Linked DNA regions of Homo sapiens: all the other regions are linked to region 2. The links are contacts of gene promoters, found by promoter capture Hi-C in blood cells and fetal thymus (Javierre and others, 2016). All regions are on one chromosome and are shown on one strand. Each heading gives the region's core, a stretch centred on a gene start or on the middle of the fragment in contact. The rest is flanking DNA. Distances are from core to core; before and after follow the strand shown.

Region 1 (4,084 bases), core at 500-2,999, 310 kb before region 2:
TACCCAAAGCCTCTATGGCTGATTCTTTATATTTTTAGATGTGGGAGTTAAGAATCTCATGGGTAAGAGGATGGAACTGGGAGGAAGACACTAACATTTTTATTTTTTATTTTTTTTATTTTTTTTTTGAGACGAAGTTTCAATCTTGTTGCCCAGGCTGGAGTGCAATGACACAATCTCGGCTCACCGCAACCTCTGCCTCCCAGGTTCAAGCGATTCTCCTGCCTCAGCCTCCTGAGTAGCTGGGATTACAGGCATGTGCCACCATGCCCAGCTGATTTTGTATTTTTAGTACAGACGGGGTTTCTCCATGTTGGTCAGGCTCGTCTCCAACTCCCGACCTCAGGTGATCCTCCCGTCTTGGCTTCCCGAAGTGATGGGATGACAGGCGTGAGCCACCTCGCCCGGCTGGAAGACACTAACATTTTTGAGCCCCCTTCTTTGTGTGTCATTCATTGTCTTGTGTGTATTATATAATTTAATCCCCTTAGCTCTACGAGGAGTGTGGAGTGATTCTCATCTCACAAGTGCAGAAACCGAGGCCTAGAGAGCTGAAATAACTTGTCTAAGCTTATATTCCCTCAAGAGGCAGGGCCAGGTTTTGAACCCAGGCCTAAAAGAGCTGCTTCTCGGGTTGTCATTGCCAGGTTGTGGGGTCTCCCTCTGTAGGAATGGAAGAGGTCTGTACTGGCTGAATGTGCCCCATTGGCAGGGATGGGGTGGCGCTGTCTTGGCCCTTTTACTTCACCCAAATTGCAGTCAGGGAGAGAAACCCCTGCGTCGGTGGCCCAGCCAGCAGCTGACAGGTGGGAAAGCTGCAGGGTGGCAGGAGAATGGTGAGTGCCATTAGAGGAGCTGGGGCTCACCTCTGGGAACCTCACAGGATTCAGATCCTGCAGGTCATTGCAGGGCCCTGCTGGTGGCCGGTGGTCCTACCTGAAGTGACCAGGAGGGTGATTTGAAGGCACAACCCCAAAGAGACACAGATCCCCTAGTTGGGGTCTAAGGGCCACTGTCCACTTAGCTCTGCCAGGGAAATACAGATCCTTTGCAGCGACACCCCATTCGGGGAAGAGAGCGGAGCTTTGAAGACTTCGTTCTGCCTGCAGAAGCGCCGGCAAGGGGGATGATGCACGGTAAAGTTAGAACAGCAGCACTGTGTCTGGGCACAGTGATCAGCCCTGATCTCAGGTGATCCGTCCGCCTCAGCCTCTAGCACTTTGGGAGGCCGAGGCAGGCAGATCACCCGAGGTCAGGAGTTCGACACCAGCCTGGCCAACATGGCAAAACCCCACTTCTACTAAAAATACAAAAATTAGCTGGGCGTAGTGGCGTGCACCTATAATCCCAGCTACTCGGGAGGCTGAGGCACAAGAATCTCTTGAACCTGGGAGGCAGAGGTTGCAGAGAGCTGAGATCACACCACTGAGGCTCTGTCTCCAGCCTGGGAGACAGAGCGGGACTCCATCTCAAAAAAAAAAAAAAAAAAAAAAACAGCAGCACAGCACTCTGAGCACTGCTTAGGTCTGAGCTATGCCCTGAACGTCACTGAACGCTTTAGGAAATAATAATTGTCGTCCATGGGCAAAGGGCCAAGGAGGCGTCGCTCTGTGTCCCCTTCCCCACGAGGCTGTGAGACCAGCCTTCTGTACTGGCCCAGAGCCCTTCTCCTAGCAGATGAGCTTGGAGTGCCAGCCACACCCTGGCTACTTTTCCAAGGAATAGTCATGGGGTGACCGCCCCTTGCACTGGGCCACCAACTGTCTGCAGAGCAACCCACAGGCCAGCCTGACCATGCAGCTGACTTTTCAGGAAACCTGAACAGCCCAGGGGTGTCTTTTCTCCAGTGGGGCCACAGCTTACCAAGTAGAGAAAGAGTATATAACCAGGCAGAAAAGCAAGTGAAAACCTTTCCAACATTCAGAACAGTCTATGGTAAGTCCAGAGCAGCTGACAGCCTTATATGGGCCTTCTCTCCAATCCAGGCCTGGAGATTCAGCCCGTCAGCAAGATCCCTAATCCCAGGCTGCAAACTTGTTGGGGAACTTCATTTTCTTGGTCCTAGGCCAGCAGCCTTTCCCAGCTCCCTGGTGTCCCTCCAGAACCATGGCTGCTGAATGAGGGCATCTAGGGGGGCTCCAGCCAGAGGCCGTGAATGCCCCCCCTTCCTCGGCCAGCCCCCTATCCATGATGAGGTGCCTGGTGATTTTCAGGACACGCGACACTTGGCCTTAGTAAGCTGGCATCCCCATCCTGGCTTGTGACCTGGGGCAGTTCATTTTATTGCTCTGGGCTTCATTTTTCTCCCTCCTGAAACCAGCACAGCTTACACAACCACAGCACAGCTTACACACCCACTCCCCTCTGGGGCAAAGAAGTACAGCGTGTGGCAAATGGAATTCCATTGTGGCACTTATTCCCGTGAACTCGGGAGGGCGGGAACCAAGACGAAACCAGTCGGGGCAGAGGTAGGGCTCCTTTGAACACCTGGTGGAGTTATTTGGATATAATAAACTTTTATTGCAGGCCAGAGGCCCTACCGGATTTTGTTCTCCTTCACACAAACGGGCGTGGTGAGTGCTGTTTGCAGGACAGAGCTGGTGTAGGGACGGGAGCCTGCTGTGTCCTCTCCCTGGGCTAAACTGAGAGCCCTGGTGAACAGTGAAAAACACTGTTCCATTTCTTGTGTAAAGGACACGCTGGCATATGCTACTGCTGCTACACCAGCCTTTCTTTTTTTTTTTTTTTTCTGGGCCTGTAATGTCAGCCTGAAAAAAGCAGAATAAACAACCCTTAAGCAAATTAATACCGTAATCCTAGAGAAGGCTCTGTGATGGATAACTTTTTCCATGAGTCAGACAGCAAGCTAACATTCGCTTGTTTTATAAAGGGGAACACTTTGTCATTTATCAACAGCAGCCTTGGCTAACAAGCTTGGGGTGTAAGCGATGAGTAGCTTCTCCAAAGGGAAGCACTGAATAGCCCTTGTAAAAACCAGCCCGAGCCCTGCAGTGGTTCCGTGACTTCCATGGGGCCTGCTTCCAGATGAGCTGTCCTGTAGCTTGCCGGCTGCTGCTGAGTCCCCGAACACAGCTGCCAGGGGATCGCTTCCCTTTTCCCGTGACTAGAGAGGGCTAAAGCTAGGCACTGCAGATCCGTAGCCATCCACGCAAGATTTAAAGCCCACAAAACCCGTGATCCTAAAATCTTCCTCTGCTGAGCCCTAGCATGAATATTTAATATTAACCACAAGCCCCATTAGGAGCATGTTCTCTTTCTCTGCGTGGGAAATACTTTCTCTTTAGTAGCTCACTTGCAGCTAATCCAATTCCCTTGGCCTCTGCCAGGACCGCCAGGTTCAAGAACTGGGATCTGGACTTAGAGAAAACATGTCTGCCTGTTCGTTCCCACTCCACGGTATTTCATGTGTTTGTAAATCCTTTTGATCTCTTAATACCTCCTGTTTATTCAGCCCCTGCTATGGAGCTCAAAGGAGTGACCTCATCCTTCCTTGACTTGCCCCCATTAGATGGGGAGAAACTGGGGCCTTTCTACTGTCCCCATGTGAGAGAACCAAAGGAGGCTGCCCTCTTACCCAGTGCTCCATGCATGGGGCTGCACAGCCTCCCCAAGCCCAGCTTGTGGCCTCAACAGCGTTTGACTGCCCAGGAAGATGCGACCTGACTTGAGGACAAGCTACATTTGTCCCCTTGCCCAGTGTGGGCCAGGCATGCACAAGAACAATACCCATATTCTTGCAACATGGGGTTTGCCAGTAACCCCACGTGACTTGACCTCACGACGGATGTGGGGGAGAAGGGGGAGGAACAAACGCTCTCTGTGTGCATTCTGCTCTGTGCTGCCCGTGAGCCTCAGCTGCGGGCAGACTGCATGGTTTGTTGCCTGCAAAGTCTCACCCCTGCTCGGGGTGCAGATGTGGGACAGTGAAGTCAGCGTGTCACCTGCCGAGGGTTCTCATCGAGTGTCCTGCTGTGTATTGTGGGGAAACATCACAGACTTTCTCTCTCGCGTGCGTGTTTTCAGCCCCTACATCAAGGATATCTCTCTGGTCCCAGTGAAAGGA
Region 2 (4,174 bases), core at 1,152-3,651:
TCCCCTCTCAACCTCTGGACCCTGCACAGTGACCAGACAGCCTCTCTGGGGAGAATTATGCAGTGCCTAGGCTCCAGATCAGTGCTTCTGAACCGGGGGCAATTTTGTCTGCCAGAGGACATCTGACAACACCTGGGGCCTGTTTTGTTGTCATAGCCTATAGGGGAAGAATGCTACCAGCATTTGTGGGAAGAGGCCAGGGATGTGGCTCAACATCCTGCAGTGCACAGGATGGCCCCTCAACAAAGAATCACACGGCCCACAATGTCAATAGCGTCACAGTTGAGAAAACCTGCTCTAGACCAAGGGTTGCTTTCTGCCGTGTGCCTCACCCCACCCCCACTCGTGTTCCCTAATCCCATCTCCAAAGGTTGGCAGCAGACCGGCCCAGGCTCGTGGAAGTTCAGATCATGATCCCCTCCAGCTCTGCAGGAGACAAGACCTGTCTCCCAGCATTCCTCATTGTTCCCGGGTCTGCAGAGGGCGTGAGCTATGCTGCAGGCGGGCTGCCCCCTGAAGCCTGCGCACCCCTCTCCAGCTCCTCAAGTCTTCTCTGCTGAGTCACCTTCGAACCGGAGGCTGTGAGCTGGCTGTCGTGACCACACTGGTGCCTCTGCTGTCATGACAACAGCACACTACGTCAGTAGTGCTCCCTGGGCACTGAGCTCCCTCTTTGCGGGGAGAAGACAGTAATGAAAAATGACAAGCATGAGGCAGAGGGGAAGATCACGCTTGGGTGGTGCAGGAGCATGGAGGTGCTCTTAATGCTCTCAATGAGAAAGGGTTAACGGTCCTGGTTGCAGGAATAGCTGAGTCAGAGGTGGGGCTTCCTCCACTCCCCCACCCCACCCCTTTCACCATTAGGGACCTTCTTGCCTTGCTCTTGCTACTCTGCTCTGGGTGGTCATTGTGAAAAGCCCGCACCAACCATGCCAGTGGCAGCCAGACGAGGACACAGCCTGGCTCTGGGTCCCAGCAGGAAAGGCAATCCCAGAAAGGCAGGGTCAGGGACTGGAGTCCTGTGGGTGCTTTTTAAGCAAAGATTATCACCAGGCAGGCTAAACTTAGCAACCGGCTTTTAGCTAGAAGGGCAGGGGGCTGGTGTCAGGTTATGCTGGGCCAGCAAAGAGGCCCGGGATCCCCCTCCCATGCACCTGCTGATGGGCCAAGGCCACCCCACCCCACCCCCTTCCTTACAAGTGTTCAGCACCCTCCCATCCCACACTCACAAACCTGGCCCTCTGCCCTCCTACCAGAAGAATGGATCCCCTGTGGGAGGGGGCAGGGGACCTGTTCCCACCGTGTGCCCAAGACCTCTTTTCCCACTTTTTCCCTCTTCTTGACTCACCCTGCCCTCAATATCCCCCGGCGCAGCCAGTGAAAGGGAGTCCCTGGCTCCTGGCTCGCCTGCACGTCCCAGGGCGGGGAGGGACTTCCGCCCTCACGTCCCGCTCTTCGCCCCAGGCTGGATGGAATGAAAGGCACACTGTCTCTCTCCCTAGGCAGCACAGCCCACAGGTTTCCAGGAGTGCCTTTGTGGGAGGCCTCTGGGCCCCCACCAGCCATCCTGTCCTCCGCCTGGGGCCCCAGCCCGGAGAGAGCCGCTGGTGCACACAGGGCCGGGATTGTCTGCCCTAATTATCAGGTCCAGGCTACAGGGCTGCAGGACATCGTGACCTTCCGTGCAGAAACCTCCCCCTCCCCCTCAAGCCGCCTCCCGAGCCTCCTTCCTCTCCAGGCCCCCAGTGCCCAGTGCCCAGTGCCCAGCCCAGGCCTCGGTCCCAGAGATGCCAGGAGCCAGGAGATGGGGAGGGGGAAGTGGGGGCTGGGAAGGAACCACGGGCCCCCGCCCGAGGCCCATGGGCCCCTCCTAGGCCTTTGCCTGAGCAGTCCGGTGTCACTACCGCAGAGCCTCGAGGAGAAGTTCCCCAACTTTCCCGCCTCTCAGCCTTTGAAAGAAAGAAAGGGGAGGGGGCAGGCCGCGTGCAGCCGCGAGCGGTGCTGGGCTCCGGCTCCAATTCCCCATCTCAGTCGTTCCCAAAGTCCTCCTGTTTCATCCAAGCGTGTAAGGGTCCCCGTCCTTGACTCCCTAGTGTCCTGCTGCCCACAGTCCAGTCCTGGGAACCAGCACCGATCACCTCCCATCGGGCCAATCTCAGTCCCTTCCCCCCTACGTCGGGGCCCACACGCTCGGTGCGTGCCCAGTTGAACCAGGCGGCTGCGGAAAAAAAAAAGCGGGGAGAAAGTAGGGCCCGGCTACTAGCGGTTTTACGGGCGCACGTAGCTCAGGCCTCAAGACCTTGGGCTGGGACTGGCTGAGCCTGGCGGGAGGCGGGGTCCGAGTCACCGCCTGCCGCCGCGCCCCCGGTTTCTATAAATTGAGCCCGCAGCCTCCCGCTTCGCTCTCTGCTCCTCCTGTTCGACAGTCAGCCGCATCTTCTTTTGCGTCGCCAGGTGAAGACGGGCGGAGAGAAACCCGGGAGGCTAGGGACGGCCTGAAGGCGGCAGGGGCGGGCGCAGGCCGGATGTGTTCGCGCCGCTGCGGGGTGGGCCCGGGCGGCCTCCGCATTGCAGGGGCGGGCGGAGGACGTGATGCGGCGCGGGCTGGGCATGGAGGCCTGGTGGGGGAGGGGAGGGGAGGCGTGTGTGTCGGCCGGGGCCACTAGGCGCTCACTGTTCTCTCCCTCCGCGCAGCCGAGCCACATCGCTCAGACACCATGGGGAAGGTGAAGGTCGGAGTCAACGGGTGAGTTCGCGGGTGGCTGGGGGGCCCTGGGCTGCGACCGCCCCCGAACCGCGTCTACGAGCCTTGCGGGCTCCGGGTCTTTGCAGTCGTATGGGGGCAGGGTAGCTGTTCCCCGCAAGGAGAGCTCAAGGTCAGCGCTCGGACCTGGCGGAGCCCCGCACCCAGGCTGTGGCGCCCTGTGCAGCTCCGCCCTTGCGGCGCCATCTGCCCGGAGCCTCCTTCCCCTAGTCCCCAGAAACAGGAGGTCCCTACTCCCGCCCGAGATCCCGACCCGGACCCCTAGGTGGGGGACGCTTTCTTTCCTTTCGCGCTCTGCGGGGTCACGTGTCGCAGAGGAGCCCCTCCCCCACGGCCTCCGGCACCGCAGGCCCCGGGATGCTAGTGCGCAGCGGGTGCATCCCTGTCCGGATGCTGCGCCTGCGGTAGAGCGGCCGCCATGTTGCAACCGGGAAGGAAATGAATGGGCAGCCGTTAGGAAAGCCTGCCGGTGACTAACCCTGCGCTCCTGCCTCGATGGGTGGAGTCGCGTGTGGCGGGGAAGTCAGGTGGAGCGAGGCTAGCTGGCCCGATTTCTCCTCCGGGTGATGCTTTTCCTAGATTATTCTCTGGTAAATCAAAGAAGTGGGTTTATGGAGGTCCTCTTGTGTCCCCTCCCCGCAGAGGTGTGGTGGCTGTGGCATGGTGCCAAGCCGGGAGAAGCTGAGTCATGGGTAGTTGGAAAAGGACATTTCCACCGCAAAATGGCCCCTCTGGTGGTGGCCCCTTCCTGCAGCGCCGGCTCACCTCACGGCCCCGCCCTTCCCCTGCCAGCCTAGCGTTGACCCGACCCCAAAGGCCAGGCTGTAAATGTCACCGGGAGGATTGGGTGTCTGGGCGCCTCGGGGAACCTGCCCTTCTCCCCATTCCGTCTTCCGGAAACCAGATCTCCCACCGCACCCTGGTCTGAGGTTAAATATAGCTGCTGACCTTTCTGTAGCTGGGGGCCTGGGCTGGGGCTCTCTCCCATCCCTTCTCCCCACACACATGCACTTACCTGTGCTCCCACTCCTGATTTCTGGAAAAGAGCTAGGAAGGACAGGCAACTTGGCAAATCAAAGCCCTGGGACTAGGGGGTTAAAATACAGCTTCCCCTCTTCCCACCCGCCCCAGTCTCTGTCCCTTTTGTAGGAGGGACTTAGAGAAGGGGTGGGCTTGCCCTGTCCAGTTAATTTCTGACCTTTACTCCTGCCCTTTGAGTTTGATGATGCTGAGTGTACAAGCGTTTTCTCCCTAAAGGGTGCAGCTGAGCTAGGCAGCAGCAAGCATTCCTGGGGTGGCATAGTGGGGTGGTGAATACCATGTACAAAGCTTGTGCCCAGACTGTGGGTGGCAGTGCCCCACATGGCCGCTTCTCCTGGAAGGGCTTCGTATGACTGGGGGTGTTGGGCA
Region 3 (3,763 bases), core at 418-2,917, 290 kb after region 2:
TCACCAGTGGCTAGTGGTGGGTACTCAATGTGTACTTTTGGGTTCACAGAAGCACAGCACCCATGGGAAGGGTCCATCTCAGAGAATTTACGAGCAGGGATGAAGGCCTCCCTGTCTAAAATCCCTCCTTCATCCCCCGCTGGTGGCAGAATCTGTTACCAGAGGACAAAGCCTTTGGCTCTTCTAATCAGAGCGCAAGCTGGGAGCACAGGCACTGCAGGAGAGAATGCCCAGTGACCAGTCACTGACCCTGTGCAGAACCTCCTGGAAGCGAGCTTTGCTGGGAGAGGGGGTAGCTAGCCTGAGAGGGAACCCTCTAAGGGACCTCAAAGGTGATTGTGCCAGGCTCTGCGCCTGCCCCACACCCTCCCTTACCCTCCTCCAGACCATTCAGGACACAGGGAAATCAGGGTTACAAATCTTCTTGATCCACTTCTCTCAGGATCCCCTCTCTTCCTACCCTTCCTCACCACTTCCCTCAGTCCCAACTCCTTTTCCCTATTTCCTTCTCCTCCTGTCTTTAAAGCCTGCCTCTTCCAGGAAGACCCCCCTATTGCTGCTGGGGCTCCCCATTTGCTTACTTTGCATTTGTGCCCACTCTCCACCCCTGCTCCCCTGAGCTGAAATAAAAATACAATAAACTTACTATAAAGATGCTCTTCGTGTGTGTGTGTGTGTGTGTGTGTGTGTGTGTGTGTGTGTGAGAGAGAGAGAGAGAGAGAGACCCCTTCTCTGGGGACCAGGAATCTTCTGGTCTTTGGGGTCGGACCCAGAGGAGAGGTTGCTGGGCGTGCCCCAGGAAGGAGATGAAGTTTCCCTGGAGAGGGAAAAATTCTGTGGAGGCTGGCTACCCACCTCCACAACCCACAGGGCTCTGTGTGGGCCTGTGTGTGTGTGAGGCTGAGACTCTGTAATTACATGTGTGTGATATACCGTGGGGGAGAGACTCAGGGTTGTGTGAGCTCTCCTGGTGTATGTGTGTGGCAGAGAAAAAGGACTATGAGAAACTGTAACATGTGTGTGCAAATTGTATCCCCAACATATGTGTTTGTGTTCCAGGAGGAGGAGGCAGAGTGTGTGTGTCTGTGTGCATGCATGCGCCCACATCCTTTTAGCTTGTGCACAACCACCCCCAACTCCACAAGCAGCCCCAGTGTGCACCACAAGCCCCCTCACTCCCAAACCCAAGGCCCAGCCCTCACACAGATACACACAGTGACACACGCTTCCTCCTCCCCGAACAGCTAGCTCCTCAGTCCCCAACAACACCAGCTGCCTCTTGGAGCTTGTGTTCGTGTTGAAAACGGGAAGGGGTGGGGGCAGGACATGAACCATTTCACCAATGAAGCCGGTTCCCAGCCATCCTCCTCACCGCCCTCCCTCTCAGCGCCTTCCTTGCCCCTCCTCCCCGAGTCACCACCGTCCAGTTCCCCACCCTGCACTCGTTTCCCGCCCCCCCCCGCCCCCCACAAAGCTGTCCTGCCTTCCCTCTGGCCTGGGCTCACTGGCAGGACGACCCCGGGAGAGAGGGTCCTGGAGAGTGAGAGGGGCAGAGACCGAGTGAGCCGTGGGCTGAGCCTGGGAGGCCGGGACTGAGGGGGAGGAGGGAGGCCCGGGGGAAGGGAGGGAGGGAGAGAGGGAAGGAGGGAGGAGGGCGGGCGAGCTGGAGCCGGCAGGCAGCGGGAGCCCGAGAGAGCCGCGTCGGGAGTGCGGTCTCCATGGCAGTGCTGGGCGCAGCCGGAGAGAGGTAAGACGACCCCTGCCTGCCCCGTCCCCTGTGTTGCCTCCCTTTCCCCCTCAAGCTGCCTCCTCTCCCCTAGGCCGGCCCCTCCTCCCCAGCCACCTGCTGTTTCTGCCCTGGAGAACCTGGAGGGGGACAGGAGGGAGGAGCCGCCTGACCTTACCCCTTCACCCCAAAGGGCGAGGGACCCCGTCGGCCAGGGAACCTCCCAGATCCCCCTTCCCACCTTCCTCTGATCTCTCCCTGTCCTTCACCTCCCTCTCTCTGTCCTTCACATCTTTCCTGCCTCCTTCCCTCTCTGACTCCCTATCTCTTTCATCCTGAGCCCACCAGCTGGGCCTGGGTGGAGGTGGGTGGGAAGGGGTCCAGGGCTGTAGGAGAGGACACTGGGGGCTGCTCTTGGCCAAGTCCCTCCACCTCCCTCTGGCTGGCCATTGCCATGGCAACTAGGGTGTACTGGGCTCCGGAGGGAAGCCAAGGGTGGGGGTGGACCAGGACCTCTTGGGGAAAGCAAGGGTCTGAGCTGCTTCCATGGGAAACAGACCCTTTCACTGCTGTGCCCCATTTTTACCCCACTTACCCTAAAGCCATTATGTGCTTCCTTACAGCCCCACTCTGTTCAGGGTTTCACCCGATTCCCTTACCCCCCTTCCCAGGGCTCACTGAAGCTCAGCATCACGCACTAAAACTGGGACCATCCTTCCTCCCATGAGAGGGAAACTGAGGCTCTGGGCCAGGGAGGAAGAGTCAAGGTCTCCCCACGGGGAGTCAGCACCTTATTGAACATTTGGCTTTTCTTCTCAGCCTCCTATTCCCTGCTCCCTCCCTCCCTCCCTCCTCCAGTCCCTCCTCCCTCCAAAGCCTCCTCTCCAGGGGGTTTGAGCTTTTCCTGCTATTTTCAGATACTACCACTTTGCCCCCTCTTTCTCTTCTGCTCAAACTCTCCTCCTTCTCCCTAGTTCCCCCTCTTTCCATTTCTGGATGCTTCTGATGTCAGCGGTTTCCCCGCCTTCAGGTTCCCTAGCACCCCCTTCGGTCCCAGACTCCTTTCTCCCATTTTCCCAGATATGGGTAGCTGGAGGGTGATCACCCAGGTTTGGGGAAGTAGGGGCTAAGCACCAAGACCCCTGCATCCAGGAGACCGGCAGGTAGGGGAGGAAGGCTGTGATGCCATATCCCAGTTCACTGTGAACCCTCAAGAGGAAACCAGTCTTGTGTCTCCCATCAGTAGTTCTGAAGAGACATTTAGGGACTTGAAGATAGGGGTGGAGTAGTGCTGAGCAGGGGATGTTCTAAGAAGGAACCTGGGAGTTCCAGCGGGAGGAGGAAGGGCTAAAGGAGACAGGGAGGTGGGAATACCTTCTTCCCTAGAGGTCTGGAAGAGTGCGGCTCTCATCTGTGTGGGGTGTTTAGCTGTCAGAGTTAAGGCAAAGGAATGTTCTGAATGACCCTCAGGGCCTTAGTAATCAGTCATGCCTATAGTTTCAAGAAAGGGGGCACAGGAGGCTGATTGGAGACCAGCCCAGGCCCTACCTTTGCCCTCTCCCTCCCACATCTCATCTTTCCCTTGCAGCCTGTCCAGGGGGCTGAGCCCCACCCCCAAATCCCTGGGGCATCCAGAAGATTCCTGACTGGTCAAGAACCAGAGGCAAAAGAGACCTGGAAGTCCCAGCATGGGGACCAGAACCCCCCAGCCAGCCTCATAGTTGGGAAAGTAGCCAGCTTGCCTGCCCCATCAATTGCAGGGATGCTTAAGGAAGGCCCCGCCCAGTATGAAAGCTGAGGATTGCCTCTGCTGACCCTCAGTCTCCTCCCCTGCCCTCTACATCTGCCCTCAGCTGGGTCCATCATGCAATGCTGAGCACTGGGGTGAGCCTGGGGGCAGCCTGCCTGCTGACAGGGCGAGGATTGTGGGGATCATGGGAGTGTTTGTGAGTGGGGCTCCTGGGTGAGACCTAGCCCCCACCCCCACAGAGCTCAAGGGGGTGGGGGGCTGAGGATAGGATGGCTCGGGGCGGGGCG
Region 4 (3,920 bases), core at 13-2,512, 350 kb after region 2:
CAAGGATGCAATCAAAAAGAAATTTCAAGGCATAAAACATGAATGGCAAACAAACGGACCAGAAGATCTCAATCGGGCTTGTACTGCTGAAAAGTTAGGTGGATCCTTTTTTTTTTTTTTTGAGATGGAGTCTTGATCTGTCGCCCAGGCTGGAGTGCAGTGACAGGATCTCGGCTCACTGCAACCTCTGCCTCCCGGGTTCAAGTGATTTTCCTGCCCAGCCTCCTGAGTAGCTGGGATTATAGCGTGCGCCACCACACCTGGCTAATTTTTGTATTCTTAGTAGAGTCAGGGTTTCACCATATTGGTCAGGCTGGTCTCGAACTCCTGACCTCGTGATTTGCCCTCCTTGGCCTCCCAAAGTGCTGGGATTACAGGCGTGAGCCAGCATGCCTGGCCAGTGGATCCTTAATTGTAGCCTTTGAAGGATGCCCTGTGTAGATCATCATTCAGTGCCACAAATTGAAAGCTTCCACGTTTAATGTTATCCTCTTGCTATATAAATAAAGCAAATATATTTAGGCCAGGGTCTCACTGAGGGGAGCTGTCTTGTCATCTTTTAGAGTAAACTAAATACTCTATAAACATATGCAAACAGCCCTAAATATATCTGTAGGGGTGGGTTGCCCCTCCACACCTGTGGGTGTTTCTCGTAAGGTGGGACGAGAGACTTGGGAAAGAAAAAGACACAAAGTATAGAGAAAGAAATAAGGGGACCCGGGGAAGCAGCGTTCAGCATATGGAGGATCCTGCCAGCCTCTGAGTTCCCTTAGTATTTATTAATCATTTGTGGGTGTTTCTCGAAGAGGGGGATGTGTCAGGGTCACAAGACAATTGTGGGGAGAGGGTCAGCAGACAAACACGTGAACAAAGGTCTTTGCATCATAGACAATGTAAAGGATTAAGTGCTGTGCTTTTAGATATGCATACACATAAACATCTCAATGCTTTACAAAGCAGTATTGCTGCCCGCAGGTCCCACCTCCAGCCCTAAGGCGGTTTTTCCCTATCTCAGTAGATGGAGCATACAATCGGGTTTTATACCAAGACATTCCATTGCCCAGGGACAGGCAGGTGACAGATGCCTTCCTCTTGTCTCAACTGCAAGAGGCATTCCTTCCTCTTTTACTAATCCTCCTCAGCACAGAACCTTTACGGGTGTCGGGATGGGGGATGGTCAGGTCTTTCCCTTCCCACGAGGCCATATTTCAGACTATCATATGGGGAGAAACCTTGGACAATACCTGGCTTTCCTAGGCAGAGGTCCCTGCGGACTTCCGCAGTGTTTGTGTCCCTGGGTACTTGAGATTAGGGAGTGGTGATGACTCTTAAGGAGCATGCTGCCTTCAAGCATCTGTTTAACAAAGCACATCTTGCACCGCCCTTAATCCATTTAACTCTGAGTTGACACAGCACATGTTTCAGAGAGCACGGGGTTGGGGGTAAGGTTATAGATTAACAGAATCTCAAGGCAGAAGAATTTTTCTTAGTACAGAACAAAATGGAGTCTCCTATGTCTACTTCTTTCTACACAGACACAGTAACAATCTGATCTCTTTTGCTTTTCCCCACATATATCTAAAGTCTAAAGTTGTTTTTTTAAAAAAAAAAAAGAAAAGAAAAGAAAAGAAAAAAGAAAATAGCCAGGCGCGGTGCTCACGCCTGTAGTTCTAGCACTTTGGGAGGCGAAAGTGGGTGGATTGTTTGAGCTCAGGAGTCCAAGACCAGCCTGGGCATCACGGTGAAACCCCATCTCTACTTTAAATATACAAAAAATTAGCCAGGCATGGCGGCGTGTGCCTGTAGTCCTGGCTACGAGGGAGGCTGAGGCAGGAGAATTGCTTGACCCTGGGAGGCAGAGGTTGCAGTGAGCCGAGATTGTGCCACTGAACTCCAGCCTGGGCCACAGAGCAAGACTCTGTCTCAAAAAAAAAAAAGAAAAGAAAAGAAAAGAAAAAAAATAAAGCCCTGTTGAGGACTTGTAATATATCAGGAATAATGCAAAAAAAAAATTATTCAGACATTTTGCAGCATGAAACACTTCAGTAAATTTATGAAGCTTTAGTTTGGTCTTTTCCTTTTTCTCCTGAGGGTGATTTTTATCAGTTCCTCAAGATTTTTTATTAGTGTTTCTCTGTGGCTCTCAAAAACTTCTTTATTTTTATGATTATTTCCTTATATTTTAGAGACTGGGTCTTACTCTGTCACACAGGCTGGAGTGCAGTGGCGAAGTAGCTCACTGTCACCTTGAGCCATGATCAAGGGATCCTCGGCTTCAGTCCCTCAAAGTGCTGGGATTACTGGCATGAGCCACCATACCTGGCCAGGCCAAGAAGTTCTTTACTTTCTTCCTCAATGATGTATAAACAAAGCCATCACGATCCACTTGCTAGGCGACTTGCACAATGAGTTTCACTTCTTTGTCAATAGAAACCCTTGGCCAGGCGCGGTGCTCACGCCTGTAATCCCAGCACTTTAGGAGGCCGAGGTGGGTGTATCAGTTGAGGTCAGGAGTTCAAGACCAGCCAGGCCAACATGGTGAAATAATACTAATAATGTAAAATAATATCTCTACTAATAATACAAAAATTAGCCAGGCATGGTGGCACATGCCTGTAATCCCAGCTACTTGGGAAGGTGAGGCAGGAGAATTGCTTGAACATGGGAGGTGGAGGTTGCAGTGAGCTGAGATCACACCACTGCATTCCCGTCTGGGCAACAGAGCAAGACTCTGTCTCAAAACACAAAAAACAAAAAAAAAAAAGAGAAAGAAACCCTTAAAATTCTGAACACATTCCACATGCATTGACTGTCAGGCTTCGTTGCTTCCATTACCTGTTTGTTTGTTTGTTTGTTTATTTATTTATTTATTGAGACAGGGTCTTGCTGTATCACCCAGGCTGGAGTGCAGTAGCATGAGCATGGCTCACTGCAGCCTCAACTTTCCCAGGCACAGGTGATCCTCCTGCCTGCACCTCCTGAGTAGCTGGGACTACAGGTGCACACCACCACGTTCAGCTAATTTTCTGCAGAGATGAGGTCTTGCCATGTTGCCCAGGCTGGTCTTGAACTCTTGGACTCAAGAGATCTGCAGCCTCCCAAAGTGCTGGGATTACAGGCGTGAGACACCACACCTGGCCTCCCATTGCCTGTTTAAATAGAAATGATGCAACTAGCAATATGGAAGGACTTCCAGATCTTTACCACATTAAGATTAGGGTCAGCATCCATGGCTCTGGGAGTCAAGGGAGAATCTCAGCCTAATGTATGTGGCTTTGAAACAGCAAATAATGCTTAGATCAGCAGAGTGAAGGATGGAGTCATGTTGGGACAGGAAACCTTCATTCAGCGCCTTTATGAGCACATTCATAAAGTGTGTGGTACATCAGTGTGGTATTGTTGTGTCCTGCAGCACAAAGCCAGATTTTTTCTCTTTGAGGTCCTGCTTGACTTCTAGAATGAAGATATTTGAAACTGAATCAGGGAAAGTACTACAGTCACCCAGGACTTTGCATTTGATTGCTAGAGCACAGGCAGGTTTTTGTTTGTTTGTTTTTTTTGACAGTCTCGCTCTGCAGCCGCGGCTGGAGTAAAGTGGCTCAATCTCTGCTCACTGCAAACTCTCCCTCCCAGGTTCAAGCAATTCTGTCTCAGCCTCCCGAGTAGCTGGGATTACAGGGGTGTGCCACCATGCCTGGCTAATTTTTGTATTTTTAATAGAGATGGGGTTTCACTGTGTTGGCCAGGCTGTCTTGAACTCCTGACCTCAAGTGCTCTGCCCATCTCAGCCTCCCAAAGGCTGGGATTACAGGTGTGAGCCACCGTACCGCCGTTTTTTGTTTGTTTGTTTTGTTTTTTTTTTTAAAGGGCACCAGGATTTGTAGAATGACAGCCCTGTAGAACTACACTGCCCCTGCACT
Region 5 (3,818 bases), core at 390-2,889, 260 kb after region 2:
CCAAGCTTCAACGGCAAAGATGCCACTGGGGGAAAGAAGGACCAAGCTTGGAAGACAGAGTAAGTCTGGAGGCAAGATCTTGTCTCACCAGCAGGGGCCAGGTCCATGGTGACACCTTCCCCAGGCAGTCACCTCTCTGAGCCCACTTTATATCCTAGGCCTGGATTCAAAGACACTTGAGCCCTGCTCCAGCCTTCCTTTGAGGTGCTATCTTGGTGCCTTTCCTATAATCACTGCTCCAGTCCCATGTCATCTGGTCCCCAGTTACCACATCAAGCTTCCCGAAGCTCCACACAGACCATGCCACATCTTTACCAAAAAATCAGCAGTGGGTCCCCTCACCTCCAGGACAAAGCTCCAGCTCTTCGACCTGCCTGTCAATATTTGCAATCACTGCCTGCACAAATTAGCTGGGTGTTGTCATGAAAGGATCACTTGAGCCCAGGAGTTCCAGGCTGCAATGACCTATGATTGAACCACTGCACTCTGGCCTGGGTGACAGAGTGGATCTAAACTAAAAATAAAAAGATTTACAGTCAAGCCTCAAAGGCTTTTCCCATACCTTCTTCCACCATCACCTCCCTGAGCCCTCTCTTTCCTCCGAAGCCTCCTCGCACATCCCTACCACCTTTGCACACCTCAGAATGGGGACACCTCTCCCCTTTCCTCTCCATCTAACTTATGGTTTTCAAACTTGAGCGTGATCAGTTACCTGGAGATTTGTGAAAACCCAGATGACTAGACCCACCCCCAGTTTCTGATTCAGCAGGTCTGGGGTGGGGCCGAGGATCTGCATTTCTAACAAGTTCCCAGGTCATGTTGCCGCTGCTACTGATCCAGGACTTTGGGAATCGCTCCTCTAATCTACAGCTGTCCATTCCCCATGGTCCATTCAGAGCCTCTCTGCCCTGCCCCCACCACCCCCAGTCTCGCCTGTCTGCCAAGCGCACAGGAAACTCTCCTTCATCCAAACCCTGGACCAACGCCTTCTGCTTGGCCCACTCAGAGGCCTTGTAGGGTTGGTCTGATATTGGACAGAGAAATGGCCCTCTGCTCTTTCTCCCCTGACCTCTCTGAAGGGGGCCTGCCCCTCCACACCTGTGGGTATTTCTCGCAAGGTGGAGACAAGAGACTGAGAAAAGAAATAAGACACAGAGAAAGTATAGAGGAATAAAAGTGGGCCCAGGGGACCGGCGCTCAGCAAGTGAGGACCTGCACCGGTGCTGGTCTCTGAGTTCCCTCAGTATTTATTGATCACTATCTTTACTATCTCCGCGAGGGGAATGTGGTGGGGCTATAGGGTGAAGGTGAGGAGAGGGTCAGCAGAAAAACATATGAGCAAAGACTCTGTGTCATAAATAAGTTTAAGGAAAGGTGCTGTGCCTGGATGTGCTAGATTTATGTTTAACTTTACACAAACATCTCAGTGTAGTAAAGAGTAACAGAGCAGTATTGCCGCCATGATGTCTCGCCTCCAGACATAAGGCAGTTTTCTCCTCTCTCAAAATAGAATGTATGATCGGTTTTACACCGGGTCATTCCATTCCCAGGGACGAGCAGGAGACAGATGCCTTCCTCTTATCTCAACCGAATAGAGGCCTTCCTCCTTCACTAATCCTCCTCAGCACAGACCCTTTACGGGTGTCGGGCTGGGGGGCTGTAAGGTCTTTCCCTTCCCATGAGGCCATATCTCAGGCTGTCTCAGTGGGGGGAAACCTGGACAATACCTAGGCTTTCTCGGGCAGGGGTTCCTGCGGCCTTCCACAGTGTATTGTGTCTCTGGTTAATAGAGAACGGAGAATGGTGATGACTTTCACCAAGCACACTGCCTGCAAGAACTTTTCTTTTTTTTTTTTTTTGAGACAGAGTCTTGCTCTGTCGCCCAGGCTGGAGTGCAGTGGCGCGATCTCGGCTCACTGCCACCTCTGCCTCCCGGGTTCACGCCATTCTCCTGCCTCAGCCTCCCGAGTAGCTGGGACTACAGGCGCCCGCCACCACGCCCGGCTAATTTTTTTGTATTTTTTTAGTAGAGATGGGGTTTCACCGTGTTCACCAGGATGGTCTCGATCTCCTGACCTCATGATCCGCCCGCCTTGGCCTCCCAAAATGCTGGGATTACACGTGTGAGGCAAGAACTTTTTAAAAGTGCATCTTGCGCAGCCCTAGATCCATTAAACCTTGATTCAATACAGGACATGTTTTTGTGAGCACAGGGTTGGGACAAAAGTTACAGATTAACAGCATCTCAAAGCAGAACAATTTTTCTTAGTACAGATCAAAATGGAGTTTCTTATGTCTTCCTTTTTCTACATAGACACAGTAACAATCTGATCTCTCTTTCTTTTCCCCATACCTCTCACGCTGTATCAGGCCCCAATTCTTGGGAACGTCACCTTAGAACTGTCCCACACATTTCTACAGCCACTTGGCTCAGGCCCTTTGCTGACCAGGATGGTTGCAGTTCTGCCTTTGGTGCCTCGCCTCCTCCAGTTCTTTCACTCAGCAGCTGCAGGGGTCCACGTGGCAAATCTAATAATCTTCTTCTCTATAGAAAATCCTCTGCTGGCTCTCTAGTGCCCAGGATCCAGTCCCAGCATCTCAGCACGGCCTTCAAGCATTTCCACGTCCTGGCCTGGCTCCATGGTCTCCCCGCCAATTTGCCACCTTCTCCATGCATCCTTTTCTGATCCCCTCCTCACTCATCCCAGCAAAGAACCCCCTCCTGGCCTGAGCATAGCATTTCGTGGTGTGTATCTCAGAGCATCCAGTTAGGGGTGTGCAAGTTTACTTTGTTACTGGCTGATGTTGTGAAGTCCCAAGTTGTTGGTGCCGCAAACAAAAAATTGGACATGACACACACAAATAGCAAAGCAGCAAAAGTTTATTAAGCACAGTACGATCCACTATGGATCAAGGATGACCTGCGAATGGTATCAGCATCACTTTGCTATATTTCATGGCCTTTTCTATGTGTTTTTTTTCTCTTTTTCCTCAAGCTGCCTAAGCTTTAGCCAGCATGTGCCTTTTGGTTGACAGGTGGGTTGCTTAGTTTCTTGGCCTCTGTGTGTTTACGTGTCATTTCCTTCCCATAGTTTTAAGTACATGCATGATATGCACTCTGTAGGCATGAACCTTAAGTAGCTAATTACTATACGGGGTCATTTTGAGGATATCTTTTCTCTGTAGTACATGTGCATCTTTTTTTGCAGTGGTGCAATCTTGGCTCACTGCAACCTCCTCCTCCCTGGTTCAAGTGATTCTCCTGCCTCAGCTTCCTAAGCACCTGAGACTACAGGTGCATGCCACCACGCCCGGCTAATTTTTGTATTTTTAGTAGAGATGGGGTTTCACCATGTTGGCCAGGCTGATCTCGAACTCCTGACCGCAAGTGATCCACCCACCTCGGCCTCCCAAAGCACTGGGATTACAGGCATGAGCCACCGCACCCAGCCTAGTATATGCCCATCTCTTAGGAGCTGCTCCTAACTGGTTTGGTTTGGATCTAGCCAGCCATGGGGCTCCTTATTCACTTATTTATCTTCTGTTTTTGCTCACCTGCCTCTTTCTCTTGCTTCTGCTCCTACTCATTCCTTCCTTAATCCAACCTCCAATTCCCTCTGCTATTCTCCTGCCTCAAGTTCACTAGGCTGGCTGCAAGGGTCCTGAGGGAGAGGTTGTGTATCGCCCCTGTATACTCCAGGTCCAGTAAATGTTTGCTGACTAATGATTGGCATTTCCCTCAGGCCCTGCCATTTCTGTGGGCTCAGGTCCCTACTGGCTCAGGCCCCTGCCTCCCTCGGCAAGGCCACAATGAACCG
Region 6 (3,977 bases), core at 1,175-3,674, 340 kb before region 2:
GACACAAAGGTTCTCCAAGGCCCCACCAGAGCAGCTAGATACAGAGTGTCAATTGGTGCATTCACAAATCCTGAGCTAGACACAGGGTGCTGATTGGTGTGTTTACAAACCTTGAGCCAGATACAGAGTACCGATTGGTGTATTTACAATCCCTGAGCTAGACATAAAGGTTCTCCACATCCCCACCAGACTCAGGACCCCAGCTGGCTTCACCCAGTGGATCCCGCACCAGCGCTGCAGGTGGAGCTACCTGCCAGTGCCGCGCCCTGCGCCCACACTCCTCAGCCCTTGGGTGGTTGATGGGACTTGGCACCGTGGAGCAGGGGGCGGCGCTCATCGGGGAGGCTCGGCCGCACAGGAGCCCACGGAGTGGGTGGGAGGCTCAGGCATGGTGGGCTGCAGGTCCCGAGCCCTGCGCCGCGAGAAGGCAGCTAAGGCCCAGTAAGAAATCGAGCGCAGCGCGGGTGGGCCAGCACTGCTGGGAGACCCAGTACACCCTCCGCAGCCGCCGGCCCGGGTGCTAAGCCCCTCATTGCCCGGGGCCCGCAGGGCGGGCCGGCTGCTCTGAGTGCGGGGCCCGCCAAGCCCACGCCCACCTGGAACTCCAGCTGGCCCGCAAGCGCCGCTCACAGCCCCGGTTCCCGCTCGCGCCTCTCCCTCCACACCTCCCTGCAAGCTGAAGGAGCCGGCTCCGGCCTTGGCCAGCCCAGAAAGGGGCTCCCATAGTGCAGCGGCGGGCTGAAGGGCTCCTCAAATGCCGCCAAAGTGGGAGCCCAGGCAGAGGAGGCCCCCAGAGTGAGCGAGGGCTGTGAGGACTGCCAGCACGCTGTCACCTCTCAAGGGGACCAGCGTTCAGCATACGGAGGATCCCGCCAGCCTCTGAGTTCCCTTAGTATTTATTGATCATTCTTGGGTGTTTCTCGGAGAGGGGGATGTGTCAGGGTCATAGGATAATAGTGGAGAGAAGGTCAGCAGATAAACACGTGAACAAAGGTCTCTGCATCATGAACAAGGTAAAGAATTAAGTGCTGTGCTTTAGATATGCATACACATAAACATCTCAATGCCTTACAGAGCAGTATTGCTGCCCGCATGTCCCACCTCCAGCCCTAAGGCGGTTTTCCCCTATCTCAGTAGATGGAATATACAATCGGGTTTTACACCGAGACATTCCATTGCCCACCTTCCTCTTGTCTCAACTGCAGAAAGGTGTTCCTTCCTCTTTTACTAATCCTCCTCAGCACAGACCCTTTACGGGTGTCGGGCTGGGGGACAGTCAGGTCTTTCCCTTCCCACGAGGCCATATTTCAGACTGTCACATGGGGAGAAACCTTGGACAACACCTGGCTTTCCTAGGCAGAGGTCCCTGTGGCCTTCCGCAGTGTTTGTGTCCCTGGGTACTTGAGATTAGGGAGTGGTGATGACTCTTAAGGAGCATGCTGCCTTCAAGCATCTGTTTAACAAAGCACATCTTGCACCGCCCTTAATCCATTTAACCCTGAGTTTGACATTGAGATTAACAGCATCTCAAGGCAGAAGAATTTTTCTTAGTACAGAACAAAATGGAGTCTCCTATGTCTACTTCTTTCTACATAGACACAGTAACAATCTGATCTCTCTTTTCCCCACACCCGCCATCATGCCCAGCTAATCTTTTTTTTTTTAGACGGAGTCTCACTCTCACCAGGCTGGAGTGCAGTGGCGCAGTCTCAGCTCACTGCAACCTCCGCTTCCTGGGTTCAGGCGATTCTCCTGCCTCAGCCTCCTGAGTAGCTGGGATTACAGGCACCTGCCACCACGCTCAGCTAATCTTTTTTTTTTTTTTTTTTCTGAGACGGAGTCTCGCTCTGTCGCCCAGGCTGGAGTGCAGCGGTGTGATCTCAGCTCACTGCAAGCTCTGCCTCCCGGGTTCACGCCATTCTCCTGCCTCAGCCTCCCTAGTAGCTGGGACTACAGGCGCCCGCCACCACGCCTGGCTAATTTTTTGTATTTTTAGTAGAGACAGGGTTTCACTGTGTTAGCCAGGATGATCTCGATCTCCTGACCTCGTGATCCGCCCGCCTCAGCCTCCCACAGTGCTGAGATGATAGGCGTGAGCCACCGCGCCCGGCCGCCCAGCCAACTCTTTTAAACAGATGCATGAAACCTGAAATTATCACCCAGGACAAATCTTGTAAGAGTCTAGTGGATGATTCAGAAAGAAGTTGCTACAGGAGTGTCCTGAGAAAGAGGATCAGAGCAGACTAAGATGACTGAGGGTGCTGGGGAAGGCAGGGGCTGGGCTGGCCTCAGAGATGGTGCAGGCTGCTTGAAGGGCAGAAAGGAGGAAGTGCCAAGAGCTTGGGCTTCGGAAAGAAGAGGTGGGGACCCAGGCATAGAGCTGGGGATGCATGTGGTATTCCAAAAGAGTGAACAGATTTGCAAACAGAGGTTAAGGCGAGAGAGCAGAGGGCCTGTATGATGATCTTACAATTGAGACATCGGCTTTCCATACATTCAATAAATATTGTGCACCTACTGTATGTCAGGCACTGTTCAAAGCCCTTGGGATACATAGAGAACAGAACAGCCATGCGGATTTTGCATTCTAGCTGGAGGAGACAGGTAAATAGCAATGCACATACCAAGGAAACATTCCACTCTGTGAGAAGGTAAATGCTATGGGAGCATTGTTTGGAAGTAGAACAGGGGTAAGGGGAGTTGGGAGATCTTTGAGCAGGAAAGAGTAAAGCTGAGCTTCAGGAGTCTGATGAAAGGATGATATTAAATATTGCTTGTTTAGAATTGCTCCCCGCCTGCCCCCAACCCCCATATACTAAGGAGGACAGACCCTGAGAGCCATGATTTGTTTTGCTGAGCAGGGTGAGGGGAGGTGGGGACACAAACGGAAAATGCCAAGTTTAGAGCTAAATTGCTCCACACAGACATATGCAGAGGACATCCACAGGGCAGGGGGCTGGCTGAGGCTGGGCTGGGGGGCAGATGATAGGGGTGGCTGCCACAGATTGGACGTTTGAGAAGAGCTATCCAGAGGGATTCTTAGAATGGTTCTCTCTGGCATATGAGAGGGAACCCCTCATCCACCTATCCGTGAAACCTTCATAAAATCCACACTGGACATAGGCAGTTTCCAGGTTGAGTGTGTGTGTGCTTAATGCAAGGAAAAGAAGTGATGGGTGAGAGGAGGGCAGCCCACCCCCAAGGACGCACGCAGCAAGACTCTCTGGGTCCAATGTTGTGTCCATCCTGGGCAGGTGAACAGCAGCGAGGCAGGGCAAGGGTAGAACAGCCGTTTGGGCTGCAGATGAGCTTCCAGGATGCAGCCCCCTTGCGGATGGCAGGGCATCAGGGGGAACAAAAGATCAGGATCCAACCCTGGACTGAAACCAGAAGCTCTGAGGTCTGATCTGTGCTCTGCCACTCAATCACTACAACCCGCCTTAGCCCTGGTGCCTCCCAGCAATGACGTAAGAACAGCTAAGAAACAGGAATCACATTCACTAAGCAGCTGTGAGGCTGGGGGAAGGAGGAGCCCCAGGTGATGGGAGGTGTTGGTGCTGACTGATTAGAGACAGGGAGGGCTGAGGAGAAAGTCAGCTGCGAGCCTAGAAAGCCCTTGGAGATTATGAATTCTGATCTTGATGTTTACATTGAGATTACTATATTTCCTATTGCTTCGGTAACAACCACAAATTTAGTGGCTTAAAGTAACACATATTTACTATTTCACAATTCTAGAGGTCTGAAATCTAAAATGGGTGGGCAGGGCTGTGTTGGATCCCTCTGGCAGCTGCAGGGGAGAATTCGTTTCTTCGCCTTCTCCAGCTTCTAGAGGCTGTCCTTGTTCCCCAACACACAGCTGTGCATCACTGCGACCTCTGCTTCTGTCGTCACATCTCCTTCCCTGGCTTTGACACTTCCACCTGTCTCTTATAAGAACCCTTTGGATTCCACTGGGCCCACTGGGATGGTCCAGG
Region 7 (3,734 bases), core at 971-3,470, 310 kb after region 2:
CTGGATTCAAAGGGCTGAGTGGGAAAAATCAGGGTACCAGGGGTCAGGAACCAACAGGAGACCATCCGTGGAGACCCCTTTTTCCTTTGGTTCCCAACTCCTCTTGCATTTTTGCTCTGCAAGTTGAAGCTGATTTCTCATTTGCCCCAAGCTAGTCCCTGAATTAAGGAGTAGGAAGTGGTAGCGAGAGAGCTGATCCTCTCTGTGCCCCTGTCCCCATCCTGCTCTAGGGAGTGAGGGCCAAGTTCTCTGAGAGAGCCAATCCCTGGAGCTGAACCTGCCCTCATCCCTCCAGGCTCGGGTGCGTCCTCGCTGTGGGCGCCTTGTGGCCTTCAGCTCCGGTGTCGAGAATCCCCATGGGGTGTGGGCCGTGACTCGGGGACGGCGCTGTGCCCTGGCACTGTGGCACACGTGGGCACCTGAGCACAGGGAGCAGGTAAGGAGCGGGGTAGGAAGGGATGTGGTTCTCCTGGTGCGTGAAGGGTGGGCAAGGAGCCCCCGAGAAGGCTCACAGTCGGTGAGGGTCAGGGGCTGAGCTGACCCAGGGAAGGTGGGTGCAGGGAATGGGCCACACTCTCCTCCCCAACCCCAGGAGTGGATAGAAGCCAAAGAACTGCTGCAGGAGTCACAGGAGGAGGAGGAAGAGGAAGAGGAAGAAATGCCCAGCAAAGACCCTTCCCCAGAGCCCCCTAGCCGCAGGCACCAGAGGGTCCAAGACAAGACTGGAAGGGCACCTCGGGTTCGGGAGGAGCTGTGAGTGGCTGAGCCAGCTCCTTGAGGATGTGGCCACTTGACTTGTGGAAGGCCATCTTGATGCCAGGACACACAGGAAGCCCCTGTGTGACATCAGGAGCAGAACAGCAAGCTCTCTGTCCCTGCACCCCCACCATCTTGGGGACCTACAAGGGCCTGGACTCAGAGGACAGTGCACAGGCTAGCCTGGAGCTCACCAGGCCTGGGGAGCTGGGACGGGGCCCCGCTGCCGGACCTGCAGCCCTGGACAGATGGGGAACACTGTGCCTCCCTGAACAGAAATGGCAGGGGAGGAGGCTGATGCTTTAAATGAAGAGGATGGTGGGGTTGGGAGGTATAACCCTGCTCCTCTCTCCCAGTCTGTGCAATAAAGGTCGTGAAGATCTCTCAGCCAGGGGCCAGTCAAGTGTATCACAGATTCTGTGATGGCTGGAGGTGGGGGTGGCTCTGGCTGGCCTGGGAGGAGACAGGTGTCTTTGGGCCTCCCAGAGGCGGGGCGCCTGGAGCCTGTGATTTGTCAGGGAAATCTCAGCCACCTGCTCCCCTCATGCAAATGACCCAAGCCCCTGGCAGCTGCTCCTTAGGCCTCCAAGTGTAAGCCCTGTCTTCCCTCTCTGAGCTTTGCTGAGACTTAGGGCCGCCTGCTTTCTCTCTGACCCCTGCTTTCACAGCCTCGAGAGGGCAAGGAGGGGGCCAGACCCCAGCCTGGGAGCAGCGTGCGGGCCTTCCCTCCACTTGAAATCCGTTGCCCGCCCACAATAGGGGCAGACCTGTCCATCCTTCTCTGTGGGTCCCCTGTACCTTTCTCCCCCAACAGGATCAGACCCAGAGGCAGCTGGTTGGGGTTTGTCGAGAAGAAGGATTATCCAGATCAGTCCTTTCTAATCTCAGCTCCTGCCTGTACCCTCCCATACTCACCAAACCCTCTTCCCCACCACCCTGAGCTGAGGAGCACAGTTTGAGGTACTGACAATGGGGCCATCTATCACCCTTATATCCCACCTCCTGGCCTGGTTGCTAAGTGGCCCTGACTGCCAAGATCATCACCATGGATGGGGGCCGGGACCAGGGGGGCCACTGGAGCTGTAGTTGTCTGCTCCTTTGCACCCCTCCCAAACCCCAACCCTTAATCCTCACAGCTTTGCTCTAATCCTGTGGGGCCTGATGCTCTTATCTCTGCCTGCAGAGACTGACCAGGGAAGCACCCCTTCACCCCCTCCTCTCTCAGGGCTTGTGGTGGGGGCTGCCCCTCTCTATGGCCCCACACTCCTGCCCCCAACCCTCCTCCCGGCTGGGCCCAAGTCTCTCTGGAATCCGTACACCTCCCTCCCTCCCCCCACCCCTTCCCCCCACCCCTGCCAGCTGATTTCATTTGCCTGACGTTGTGGTTGGCTCTACCCTTCCCTGTCAGGCCCCCCCAACCCCCCGCCGGTCGGGGCCAGGCCAGGCCAGGCCAGCTCCTCTGGCAGCAGAGCCTGGGCAGGTGACGGGCGGGCGCGGGCGTCGCAGCTGAGGGAGTAAGGAGGCTCCCAGGAACCGGAGCTGGAAACCCGGCCGAGGTCCAGCCAGAGCCCAAGTAAGAGGGAGCTGGCCTGGGCTCTGCTCTCCTGGGCTGGGGCGCAGGCAGGGCTCAGGCAGGCTGGGGCTGGACGCAAAGGACCTCAAACTTGGAGGGCCTAGCTGGGGAGAGGGTGCAGCCACCCAGTCGTTTCCCTGTGTCTTGGAGTCTGGTGTGGGCACGAAGGGCAGAAGCACAGCCTGGTGGGGGGTTCCTCAACACCGACCCCATGTTCCTGGCAGGAGCCAGAGTGACCCCTCGACCTGTCAGCCATGGGGGAGATGGAGCAACTGCGTCAGGAAGCGGAGCAGCTCAAGAAGCAGATTGCAGTAACTCCAGAGCCCTACCCCTGGGGCCCCAGAAAACAGCTGGGGACATGAGGAGCGTGGCCCAGGGGGAGGGGGCTGGGTTTGCTCTTGAGTGACTAGAAGTGACCAGGGACTTTCTAAACTTGGTTCGCATATTTGAGACCCCCAAGCCCCAGAGCCCCAAGACCAACCTGCCCTGAAGGCCCATGCACCTGCCACCCCCACCTCGCCCTTGCTCCCCTGATGTCTGCTTTCCCTGCAGGATGCCAGGAAAGCCTGTGCTGACGTTACTCTGGCAGAGGTAAGACCCCCTGTCCCCCGGAAGGCAGGGCATGGGGGGAGGGGAAGGGAGCTCCCCGACCCGCAATAGCGCGTTGCTCCGAGCATTAGTACAGCACGTCCTTGGAGTGAGGAAACCCATTAATTAATTCATTCGACCAACATTTTAGCGGGACCTGCTCTGAGCCAGGCACCATATTGGATGCGAAAGATGCGGACACGGTTCCTATTCTCATCCGTAGAACAAGAGTGACCACAGCCCCCTCCCAGGGCCTTGAAGATGAAGAAGCGATAGTACTTTGTAAATTATAAAGCCCTTGTAGACTCTAGCTGCTAGTTTTCTATGCTGTATTTTGTCAATTCTAAGATGCACATTTCTTCACATTTTGACATCTCTGAAATCAAGGTGCATTCAGCAATGGATCATTGTTTCAATTAGAATTGACAGCATCTTTTCTTTCTTAGTGATGCATCTTAGATTGGATTAAATATGTTAATAGTGAACACTTTTTATGAGCCAGATACTGGGCTAAGCTGCATAAATACCTGATTTCATTGAATTTTCATGATATCTCTGTAAGGTAGGTGCTATGATAAGCCTCATTTTACACCTTGAGTAAACAGACTCAGGGAGGTGAAGCAACTTGCCCAAGATAACAAAGCAGGCCGGGCGCAGTGGTTCACGCCTGTAATCCCAGCCCTTTGGGAGACTGACGTGAAAGGATCACTTGAGCTCAGGAGTTTGAGACCAGCCTGGGCAACATAGTGAGATCTCTTCTTAATATAAAAAAAATTGCTTTTAACTTTTTAAAAAAAGATAGCAATGCAAGTGATGG

Evidence for each region. Contacts are between HindIII fragments. The CHiCAGO score rates a contact against its expected background, and 5 or more counts as called.
Region 1: a fragment that was not itself captured here is called in contact with the fragment with the promoter of GAPDH in region 2 in 1 of 17 cell types (total CD8 T cells); the score reaches 5.3 in total CD8 T cells.
Region 3: the fragment with the promoter of GPR162 here is called in contact with the fragment with the promoter of GAPDH in region 2 in 8 of 17 cell types (naive CD4 T cells, total CD4 T cells, non-activated CD4 T cells and 5 more); the score reaches 8.7 in naive CD4 T cells.
Region 4: a contact is called between a fragment that was not itself captured here and the fragment with the promoter of GAPDH in region 2, in 3 of 17 cell types (activated CD4 T cells, non-activated CD4 T cells and naive CD4 T cells). The highest score is 8.3, in activated CD4 T cells.
Region 5: a fragment that was not itself captured here is called in contact with the fragment with the promoter of GAPDH in region 2 in 11 of 17 cell types (monocytes, non-activated CD4 T cells, activated CD4 T cells and 8 more); the score reaches 13.6 in monocytes.
Region 6: a contact is called between a fragment that was not itself captured here and the fragment with the promoter of GAPDH in region 2, in 4 of 17 cell types (fetal thymus, total B cells, total CD4 T cells and 1 more). The highest score is 5.6, in fetal thymus.
Region 7: the fragment with the promoter of GNB3 here is called in contact with the fragment with the promoter of GAPDH in region 2 in 10 of 17 cell types (activated CD4 T cells, naive CD4 T cells, erythroblasts and 7 more); the score reaches 11.1 in activated CD4 T cells.

Annotation. Positions count from the first base shown.
Region 1 is chr12:6,227,088-6,231,171 of GRCh38, forward strand. All of the region lies in intron 2 of CD9 (CD9 molecule), which reads left to right. The region is part of intron 4 of LOC105369625 (a long non-coding RNA gene); the gene reads right to left. Among named protein-coding and RNA genes, the nearest start is that of CD9, 29 kb to the left of the region's middle. RefSeq lists enhancers at 3,696-3,990, 3,832-4,041. The HindIII fragment of the contact is 2,363 bases long and covers 569-2,931 here.
Region 2 is chr12:6,532,116-6,536,289 of GRCh38, forward strand. GAPDH (glyceraldehyde-3-phosphate dehydrogenase) reads left to right here and starts at 2,402. Exons shown (of 9, transcript NM_002046.7): 1 at 2,402-2,454; 2 at 2,695-2,746. The coding sequence starts at 2,718. It overlaps GAPDH-DT (GAPDH divergent transcript), which reads right to left and starts at 2,292. Exons shown (of 2, transcript XR_002957397.2): 1 at 1,349-2,292; 2 at 1-1,028. RefSeq lists enhancers at 544-673, 634-1,407, 1,408-2,181, 2,182-2,955 and silencers at 1,584-1,833, 2,554-2,693. The HindIII fragment of the contact is 4,237 bases long and covers 1-4,091 here.
Region 3 is chr12:6,820,154-6,823,916 of GRCh38, forward strand. GPR162 (G protein-coupled receptor 162) reads left to right here and starts at 1,668. Exons shown (of 5, transcript NM_019858.2): 1 at 1,668-1,747; 2 at 3,315-3,763. The coding sequence starts at 3,746. CD4 (CD4 molecule) reads left to right here. Exons shown (of 10, transcript NM_000616.5): 10 at 1-646. RefSeq lists an enhancer at 679-1,651. The HindIII fragment of the contact is 21,739 bases long and covers 1-3,763 here.
Region 4 is chr12:6,885,249-6,889,168 of GRCh38, forward strand. All of the region lies in intron 1 of LOC105369632 (a long non-coding RNA gene), which reads right to left. It also overlaps the pseudogene DSTNP2. Among named protein-coding and RNA genes, the nearest start is that of SPSB2, 14 kb to the left of the region's middle. RefSeq lists an enhancer at 906-1,453. The HindIII fragment of the contact is 1,590 bases long and covers 468-2,057 here.
Region 5 is chr12:6,796,329-6,800,146 of GRCh38, forward strand. It overlaps CD4 (CD4 molecule), which reads left to right. Exons shown (of 10, transcript NM_000616.5): 2 at 3,744-3,818. The coding sequence starts at 3,811. Among named protein-coding and RNA genes, the nearest start is that of CD4, 8.7 kb to the left of the region's middle. The HindIII fragment of the contact is 2,728 bases long and covers 276-3,003 here.
Region 6 is chr12:6,190,597-6,194,573 of GRCh38, forward strand. No RefSeq gene overlaps it. Among named protein-coding and RNA genes, the nearest start is that of CD9, 7.8 kb to the right of the region's middle. RefSeq lists enhancers at 1-486, 487-1,172 and a silencer at 3,500-3,549. The HindIII fragment of the contact is 5,273 bases long and covers 1-3,977 here.
Region 7 is chr12:6,838,705-6,842,438 of GRCh38, forward strand. GNB3 (G protein subunit beta 3) reads left to right here and starts at 2,221. Exons shown (of 10, transcript NM_002075.4): 1 at 2,221-2,329; 2 at 2,554-2,640; 3 at 2,882-2,920. The coding sequence starts at 2,584. P3H3 (prolyl 3-hydroxylase 3) reads left to right here. Exons shown (of 15, transcript NM_014262.5): 14 at 296-436; 15 at 593-1,143. The coding sequence ends at 757. The HindIII fragment of the contact is 12,557 bases long and covers 1-3,734 here.